Regions from separate parts of the Homo sapiens genome. Here region 1 is linked to region 2. The links are contacts of gene promoters, found by promoter capture Hi-C in human tissues and cell types (Jung and others, 2019). All regions are on one chromosome and are shown on one strand. The core of a region is centred on a gene start or on the middle of the fragment in contact, and the rest is flanking DNA. Distances in the headings are between cores, read along the strand shown. Region 1 overlaps SIPA1L3 (signal induced proliferation associated 1 like 3). Region 2 holds the start of KCNK6 (potassium two pore domain channel subfamily K member 6).

Region 1 (4,503 bases), core at 973-3,472, 370 kb before region 2:
CTGCCAGGCGCAGTGGCTCATGCCTGTAATCCTAGCACTTTGGGATGCCGAGGTGGGTAGATCACTTGAGGCCAGGAGTTCAAAACCAGCCTGGCCAACATGGTGAAACCCTGTCTTTACTAAAAATGCAAAAACTAGCCAGGTGTGGTGGCAGGCACCTGTAATCCCAGCTACTCAGGGGGCTGAGGCAGGAGAATTCCTTGAACCCGGGTGGTGAAGGTTGCAGTGAGCCAAGATCGTGCCATTGCACTCCAGCCTGAGGAACAGAGTGAGACTCTGTCTCAAAAATAAAATAAAATATAAAAATAAATAAATAATTCTCCAGAAATGATTTGTATGAATCAGATATTTGAGAACCACTTTGCTAGACTTTCCTGAGTGGCGGTTCTTAGCTTTATGTGATCAACAGACTGGCCTGGGGAACTTGTTAAAATACAGCAGCTCTGTTCCACATTGCTGGAGATTCTGGTTTGGGGCCTGAGGCCTGGGTATCTGCATTTTGAACACCATCCTGGGTGATTGCATACACTTCAGAGTGTGTGTATGCACAGAGGATTCTTGGCCGGGCACGGTGGCTCACGCCTGTAATCCCAGCACTTTGGGAGGCCGAGGTGGGTGGATTACAAGGTCGGGAGATCCTGGCTAACATGGTGAAACTCCGTCTGTACTAAAAATACAAAAACAATTAGCCAGGCGTGGTGGCGGAGGCCTGTAGTCCCAGCTACTCAGGAGGCTGAGGCAGGAGAATGGCGTGAACCCGCATTCTCAGCTTACAATCCTATCCATAGAGGGGGCCCAGGATCCTTCTCAAATGAATGAAAGTAGAGTTTAAGTCTGCAGTTTTTTTCCTCTTTGGAAAAAAACATTCCTTTCCTGCCCATGACCCAGCCTTGCACACTGGCCGCTAAACCTGGCGTATCGCATCATGTTTCAGGAGGAATTTGGTCAGATCTGTGCACTTTATTAGGATAATGGTTGACCCAGTGTGTACCTCCCCAGGTAACTTTGGAAAGAGCTGGATAGAGTTCATGACCAATTCGGAACAAAGTCTGCTCTTAGGAGGAATTTTGCTAATAGTGGGAAATATTCAAGAGGGTAATCACTGACTTAGTTCAAGGTAATTTAAGGTGAATGCATTCCTCATGTGTGTGTGTGTGTATGTGTGTGCATGCGTGCCAAACTTACTTGAGGTGAAGGAGGGGCGAAAGCCCTTTTACTCGAATGAAAGGAAATCTTTTGAATTGACCTATCGGTTCAGAAAATCCCTTTTCAAATCTTCCCTTGAGCAGCTTTGCTTTTGAGGCCCCTGAAAGCTGGGAAAGAAGGGGCTGTGAGGCCTGACTGACTCCTCGCTGCTGGCTGTACCCCCAGGCACGTGTGATTTTGCCATTGTCTGAAATCTTGCTTTCCCCAGAATTTGTGCCCCATGCTGAGTTCCTACAGCTCAGCCACCAGGAATTAGGGCATGGGTTAGCCAGGATTATTCAAATTTAATCTGATCATCGTTAAACATTTTTGCTTGCATCCTCCCCAAAAGAATTTTGATAAGCCCCTGTATACCTCCTTGTACACTGTAAAGCTAACATCTAAAATAAGCTTATGGTAACTTTAAATTTGTCTTATTTGTGGGAGAAGAAAATAGTACACATTTTGAAGGTCGAATGTAATTGAAATATTTTATGATGTGGTTAGATAAAAAAAAGTTTTTACTACCTTATTGAGTAAAGTACACAGAAGCTGAAAGCAATCATGTAAATTTTTCCCTGGGAATTTTTTCTTGGTGGATCTAGAAAAATTCAGTGGTCCTGAAAAATGTTCCCTTTGAACAAATCAGAGCCACTAACCTATACTGCTTTGACATTCATGATCCTACTATGGTTCAGAAAATCCTATTTTTAAAGCCCAGTTTCATGTTTGGCAGAAAGATACTTAAGTCAGGGAAAGACAGGCAAGTCTGGGGGTTTAAGTAGCTTTTTATTGTTCACTAAAGGCTACTTCCCCGAAACCAATATTGATGTTGTGTGTTTGGAGTCCTGGAGGTTTACACACCTCTCGGTCGTGCTCCTTGGGAAAATGGGGGAGTGCACAACAGCGGGTGGGCAGTGGGGAAGGAGACAGGCTGGTTTGCAGCCAGATCAGTTTTAGGAAGAGGAACTTGTGGATGTTGAGGATCTGAACATTGCTTCCCTTGAAAACACTGTTTTCAAGATACTCCTGTATCTGTTAAGTTTCCGTAAACCCCTAGTGATAAGCACATCCAAGCGTGAAGCCTCTCGGCTTTAAGAACCAGGCGGTTTCATATGGAGTGGGAAGTCCAGAGGTGATTAGGTTACAGAAGTTGTCACCACCACCGCCTGTATGTGTGTATATATACACACGTGCCATAAAAGTCACCCATTCAGAATATGCAATTCAGGCTGGGCGCAGTGGCTTATGCCTGTAATCCCAGTACTTTGGGAGGCCAAGGCAGGCAGATCTCTTGAGGCCAGGAGTTCGAGACCAGCAAGGACAACATGGTGAAACCCTGTCTCTACTAAAAATACAAAAATTAGCCAGGCATTGTGGTGCATGCCTGTAGTCCCAGGTACTTGGGTAGCTGAAGCACGAGGATTGCTTGAACACAGGAGGCGGGGGTTGCAGTGAGCCGGGATCACACCACTGCACTCCAGCCTGGGTGACAGAGTGAGATGCTGTCTCTCAAAAAAAAAAAAAAAAAAAAAGGCCAGGCATGGTGGCTCACACCTGTAATCCTAGCACTTTGGCAGGCCGAGGTGGGTAGATCACCTGAGGTCGAGAGTTTGAGACCAGCCTGACCAACATGGAGAAACCCCGTCTCTACTAAAAATACAAAATTAGCCAGGTGTGTTGGCACATGCCTGTAATCCCCGCTACTCAGGAGGCTGAGGCAGGAGAATCGCTTGAACCTAGGAGGCGGAGGTTGCCGTGAGCCAAGATCGCACCATTGCATTCCAGCCTGGGCAACAAGAGCAAAACTCTGTCTCAAAAAAAAAAAAAAAGAGTATGCAATTCAGCTGTTTTTGGTAAATTTGTGAAGCTGCATAACTATCACCACAATCCAGTTTTAGAATATTACCACCACCCCAAAAGATATCCATCTTGTACCTCTTTGCAGGCAGTCCTTGCTTCCACGCCTAGGCCCAGGCTACCACTAACCTGCTCTTTGTCTCTGTAGATTTGCGTTTCCTGAACATTTCAAATACATGCAGTCATACAGTATGTAGTCTTTTCTGTACCAGGCTTCCGTCACTTAGCATAATGTTTCTGCGCTTCCTCCAGGTGATAGCTCATATCAGTCGTTCATTTGTTCTTATTGCTGAATAATATTCTATTGTATGGGTAAACCACATTTTGTTTATTCGTTAACCATGAATGGATAATTTCATTACCATTATTCGTTAATGGATACTTGGATTGTTTCCAGTTTGGGCTAGTATGAGTAGTGCTGTTATAGACATTTATGTTCAGGTCTTTGTGTGGACATGTTTTCATTTCTGCTCAGGAGTGGAATTACTGGGTCATTTGGTAACTCTGTTTAAGTTTTTAAGAAACTGCCAGATTGTTTTCCAAAGTGGCTGCGCCATTTTCATAGATAGGGTCTCATGATGTTGTCCAGGCTGGAGTACAATGGCTATTCACAGGCGTGATCATGGCGCACTACAGTATCAAACTCCTGGGCTCAAGCTGTTTTCCCGCTTCAGCCTCCTGAATAGTTGGGACCACAGGTGCGTGCCACCGCCCCTGGCTGGGGTCCAGTATTTCTTTATCCTCACCAACGCTTATTGTTACAGCCATCCTGGTGGGTGTGCAGTGGTATCTCATTGTAGTTGTGATTTGCATGTCTCTGATGACTAATGCTGTTGATCATCTTTTTATGTGCTTATTGGCCATTCGTGTATCTTCTTTGGTGAAATATGTATTTGTATTGTTTGCCTATTTCTTAATCTTGTTATTTCATTGAGTTGTAAGAGTTCTTGATATGTTCTGGATAACACTCATCAGATATGTAGTTTGCAAATATTTTTTCCCAGAAAATATTTTTATTTTTTTAGTCATGCCTTTGGAAGTATAAAAGTTTTGTTTTTTTTTTTTTTTGAGACTGAGTCTCACTCTTGTCACCCAGGTTGGAGCAGTGGCACAATCTCGGCTCACTGCAATCTCTGCCTCCCGGGTTCAAGCAATTCTCCTGCCTCAGCCTCCTGAGTAGCCGGGATTACATGCACACGCCACCATGCCCAGCTAATTTTTGTATTTTTAGTAGAGATGGGGTTTCGCCATGTTGGCCAGGCTGGTCTTGAACTCCTGACCTCAAGTGATCCGCCCACCTTGGCCTCCCAAAGTGTTGGGATTACAGGTGTGAGCCACCACGCCCACCCTAATATAAAAGTTTTTAATTTTGGAAATTCCGTTTATCAATTAGTCTTTTATGGATTGTGCTTTTGGTATTATATTTAAGAACTCTTTGACCCAGTATCATGAAGTTCT
Region 2 (4,860 bases), core at 414-2,913:
GACTCTTGTCTCAAAAAAAAAAAAAAAAAAAAAAAAAAAGCAAGTTCATTAGTTCATTGGCTTCCTGCTGGCCTCATGTTCACCCCTTACCAGTTGTGTGACTACTACTTTTTATTTTTTTGAGGCAGGGTCTACTCTATCACCCATACTGGAGTGCAGTGGTGCGACCATAACTCATTGCAGTCTCTAATTCCTGAGCTCAAACGATCCTCCTGCCTCAGCCTCCCGAGTAGCTGGGACTACAGACGCATGCCACCACACTTGGCTAATTTTTGTATTTTTTGTCGAGATGGGGTTTTGCCATGTTGCCCGAGCTGGTCTCAAATGACTACTTCATTTTTAAGCCTAAATTTTCTCATCTGTTTAGTGGGAATTATATTGGGACGGGGTTGAGAATTCAGTGCAAGTTCAGGTGTCCACAGGGCCTGGCAGAATGTAAGCCTTCGATCACTGGCACCTATTGTGTTACTGATTCTATTATCAGGTGCCTCTGCTTCTGGATTGTCAACCCCAAGTTGGGCTCTGCCCGGTGATCTGCCAGCTCTTTAATAGAACCAGCTGGGACATGTCTGAGCTGAGCCCCAAGCCCCACTCCTCTGCCAGTCGGATGGGGTTAGGACTCTGGGCTGCCCTCCAAAAGGCTGTCAGGAAGGCGCTGAGTTCTGGCTGGAGGCAGAAGTGGAGAGACTTACGGGGGGGCGCAGAAAGAAAAATTTCCTCTTAAATAGAGGCGTGTATTTGTGATTCTGCCTGGCTTGTTTCCATTCATCCTTCATGCTTCAGCTCAGCTAGCCCCTTCCTCAGGAAGCTCTCTTGACCTCCCTAGGCAGGGGTGGTTGCTTCCTCTGGACTCCCAGGGCCCTCTAGGGCTCCCTGATTCCAGGCTTGATCATTGTACCCTTGCTTCCCTCATCACAGCCCTGACCACTCTGGGCTGTCTTTTTTCTTTTTTTTAGAGATAGGGTCTCACTCTCTCCCAGGCATAGCTCACTGCAGCCTCGAACTCCTGGGCTCAAGCAATCCTCCGACCTCAGCCTCCCGAGTAGCTGGGACAACAGGCGTGGGTCACTCTTGTGTCAGTCTCCCAGTTAGACTGGGAGCCCCATGAATGCATGGCGCAGGATGGTCTCATCATTACTGAGTCTCCAGGATCATCCAGCGAGGGGTCAGCAGAAAGTGGGCATTGAACAAAGCTTTGGTGAGTAGCTGAGGATCCCCACTCTGTCCACACGGGCACAGGGGACACCTGACTCTGTGGTGTCCGCTGTTCCCACTCCGAGGCTCACAACTTGGCGAATGGAGCGAGAATTGGATTTCAGTTTGCCCCTTGCTCCGTCAGCCGCGCGCCCTGATGCAGTGCACAACCTTAGCTGCTGTGCGCGATGGGGGGCGACTCCTCGGCCTGCGAGCAGAGAGGAAAGTTCAGATTCTTCTAACATAGAGAACCAGCCTTCCAGGAGGACGAGAAGGAAGGAATGAGGGGAAGAGAGGACTACCTCCACCCTTTCCATCCCGTTGGTCTGCTGGGTCTGGGAGCACTGGGCTCCACCCTCTCCGAACGAACACCTGGCGGTTGGGCGTGCCTCAGTTTCCCGGAGGCGGGGCATTCCTCCGTCGCCGCCCCCCACCTCCCCTTTTTCCTCTTCCTCTTGGGGCATCTGCTGCCGCGCCTGTAGCACTCCCGGAACTGGAACTAGGTGCCAGACGGTCCGGAGGCGGGGGCCACGTCAGCGGGGCCACCCAGGGCTCGCGGGGTCCCGGTGGGTGCCATGCGGAGGGGCGCGCTTCTGGCGGGCGCCTTGGCCGCGTACGCCGCGTACCTGGTGCTGGGCGCGCTGTTGGTGGCGCGGCTGGAGGGGCCGCACGAAGCCAGGCTCCGAGCCGAGCTGGAGACGCTGCGGGCGCAGCTGCTTCAGCGCAGCCCGTGTGTGGCTGCCCCCGCCCTGGACGCCTTCGTGGAGCGAGTGCTGGCGGCCGGACGGCTGGGGCGGGTCGTGCTTGCTAACGCTTCGGGGTCCGCCAACGCCTCGGACCCCGCCTGGGACTTCGCCTCTGCTCTCTTCTTCGCCAGCACGCTGATCACCACCGTGGGTACGTAAGCGCCTCACCGCAAGGCGGCGAGGACCCGGGATCCCCACTTCATCCTTAACCCCTGGGGACCCCGGGGCCCTCACGAATACCCTTATCCCAATCCCCTCTGGGCTTCGGATCCCCCGAAAAGACCCCAGTGAGGACCCGGGACCCAGGCTCATGATATCTGCTCTGCTCGGGGAGCCCAAGTCCGAGCCCTTCCTCCTAAGTAGGAAACACCCAGCTCCCCTCAGAGTACCTTTGCAGAGACCAGCTGGGACCCCGTTCCTCGGTCTTTTTTTTTTTTCTTTTCTTTTTCTTTTTTTGAGACAGGGCTTACTCTGTCGCCCAGGCTGGAGTGCAGTGGCACGATCTCGGATCACGGCAGCCTCCGCCTCCCGGTTTCAAGCTATTCTCCTGCTTCAGCCTGCCGAGTAGCTGGGATTACAGGCACATACCACCATGCCTGGCTAATTTTTGTATTTTCAGTGGAGACGGAGTTTCACCATGTTGGCCAGGCTGGTCCCAAACTCCTGACTTCAGGTGATCAGCCCGCCTCGCCCTCCCAAATTGCTGGCATTACAGGCTTGAGCCACTGCACTGGGACTGCATTCCCCGGTCTTAATCCTCTTGGTGACCCGGGTCTGTCCAGCCCCCTCTAAGCCTAGGACTGTCCTCAGAGACCTCCAGCAAGGACCCAGGACACGCCACCCTCCAAGGGAGATCCTTGCCCCCTCTGGACCCAGAACTCAACCATGCCAGGACCCCTGACTTTATCTCTAGTCTGGGCCTGCCACCCTTGCCATGTCTCCTGACCCTCCAGATATGTCCTTCTGGGAAACCCCCCTGGAGAAACCCCATCTCAACCTCCTCCTGACCCTGGCGCCTTAGCGAGGACCCTAAATCTCCAGACCTCTCAGGGTGTCCTCACTAAAGACCTCCCTCCCAACAGAGATTCCTCAGCAAGGACCTGGCACCGCCATCTGGGACTCCTGGCCCTCTGGACCTGGGCCTCTGCTCCAGACTGTCATCTGTCTCCTGGCCCCATACTCCCCAGCAGGCAACTCTGACCCCAGACACAAAACCCTTCCCTAGGTACCCCACCCCATCTTGACATCTCCCCTATATGGGGTCACTCTCAATGCAGGATTTTCCTCCCAATAGGGACACCACCTGTTCCCTCTGGACCTGGGACTCCCAATTCAGCAGCCCCAGCTAGGGATGTGTCAAAAGGACCCACCGTGGAGGGACCCCGAGTTTTGGGAAACCCTGAGAAGCCAGACTTGGGAAATCTCTTTGTTGCCAGGCTCTGCTGCTCCCCCAGCCCCTTCTCAGCTCCCAGACTTCCTCTTTGTTTCTTTGTTGGGGATTTGTTGAGGAGAGGAGGCTGGTGCAGGGTTAGCCCAGACTCCTAACTCGCCCTCCCGGCCAACAATAGGGGGCAGCTTTTGCTTTTGGTCCCCTGGCAGCAGAGCTGGGTGACTTCTCGTTAGCTGACCTCCCCTGGGTCTGCCCATGCTGCCAGGGCGGCCTGACCTGCTTCTGAGCTTCCCTGGGTCATGTGCACGCCTCCTACCTCTTCCCAGATCCTGGCTTCTAAGAAGTCATCCCTGGCAGGGCAGATGAGGGAAGCCAGACACACGTCAGGCACAGCCTGGCTACATCCCTGCTCAGCCGCGGCTCATTGCCAGGCCTCAGTGTCCTCCCCCATTGCTAAAATGGAGATAATAACACTCCCCATTTCCCTGTAATAGCAGTAGCCTGACAGAGGACTTGCCAATGCATGCTTTAACTCACTTAATCATCACAACAGCCTTGTGAGGCAGGCGCCTTTATAGGCTGTATATTTTTAGCCATGGAAACCGAAGCCTAGAGAAGTTGGGTAACTTTCCTAAGGTCACACAGCAAAGACGGCATAGAGTAGAGATTTAGTCAAGGCCATCAGGCTCTAGAGTCCCATGCTGCTAGCCAACACACCACACTACTTAGAAGAAGGGTGCTGTGTGTGTTGTAAAAGAAAAAAATATGCTAACACTTGTTAAAAATGGAAAGTTATTGTGGTAGAGGAGAGACCATTGCAAAGGCCAGAGAGACTGAACTCAACTGTGAATATAGCAAACACAGCTGGAGTTTTATGGCTAACAAGTAGAATAAGGGAGTCAGTGGATGGAAGAATACTAAGAGGAGAGACATTCGGGTAGGGGGATTCTTGCTAAACTCAGCTTAACAAGATTCTTGCTAAAGACAGGCCAAGGACTTAGATATTGAGAGGGGGTGGATGAGGGCCAGGCGCAGTGGCTTACGCCTATAATCCCAGCACTTTGGAGGGCCGAGGTGGGCAGATCACCTGAGGTTAGGAGTTCGAGACCAGCCTGACCAACATGGTGAAACCCCGTCTACTAAAAATACAAAAATCAACCGAGCATTGTGGCAGGCACCTGTAATTCCAGCTACTCGGGAGGCTGAGGCAGGAGAATCACTTGAACCTGGGAGGCAGAGGTTGCAATAAGCTGAGATTGTGCCACTGCACTCCAGCCAGGGCAACAGAGTGAGACTCCATCTCAAAAAAACAAAAAACAGGCCGGGCAAGTTGGCTCACGCCTGGAATCCCAGCACTTTGGGAGGCTGAGGCGGGCGGATCACCTGAGGTTAGGAGTTCGAGACCAGCCTGGCCAACATGACGAAACCCCATCTCTACTAAAAATACAAAAATTAGCCAGGCATGATAGTGCGTGGCTGTAATCCCAGCTACTTGGGAGGCTGAGGCAGGAGGATCACTTGAACCTGGGA

Evidence for each region. The method cuts DNA at HindIII sites, captures the fragments that hold promoters and counts their contacts. A contact is called where the count stands out against the background at its distance.
Region 1: a fragment that was not itself captured here is called in contact with the fragment with the promoter of KCNK6 in region 2 in 1 of the 25 tissues and cell types used here (lymphoblastoid cells).

Annotation. Positions count from the first base shown.
Region 1 is chr19:37,952,390-37,956,892 of GRCh38, forward strand. The region is part of intron 1 of SIPA1L3 (signal induced proliferation associated 1 like 3); the gene reads left to right. Among named protein-coding and RNA genes, the nearest start is that of SIPA1L3, 47 kb to the left of the region's middle. The HindIII fragment of the contact is 6,266 bases long and covers 1-4,503 here.
Region 2 is chr19:38,318,182-38,323,041 of GRCh38, forward strand. KCNK6 (potassium two pore domain channel subfamily K member 6) reads left to right here and starts at 1,664. Exons shown (of 3, transcript NM_004823.3): 1 at 1,664-2,091. The coding sequence starts at 1,770. It also overlaps a transcript of YIF1B not described here. RefSeq lists an enhancer at 1,492-2,115 and a silencer at 1,757-1,846. The HindIII fragment of the contact is 11,421 bases long and covers 1-4,860 here.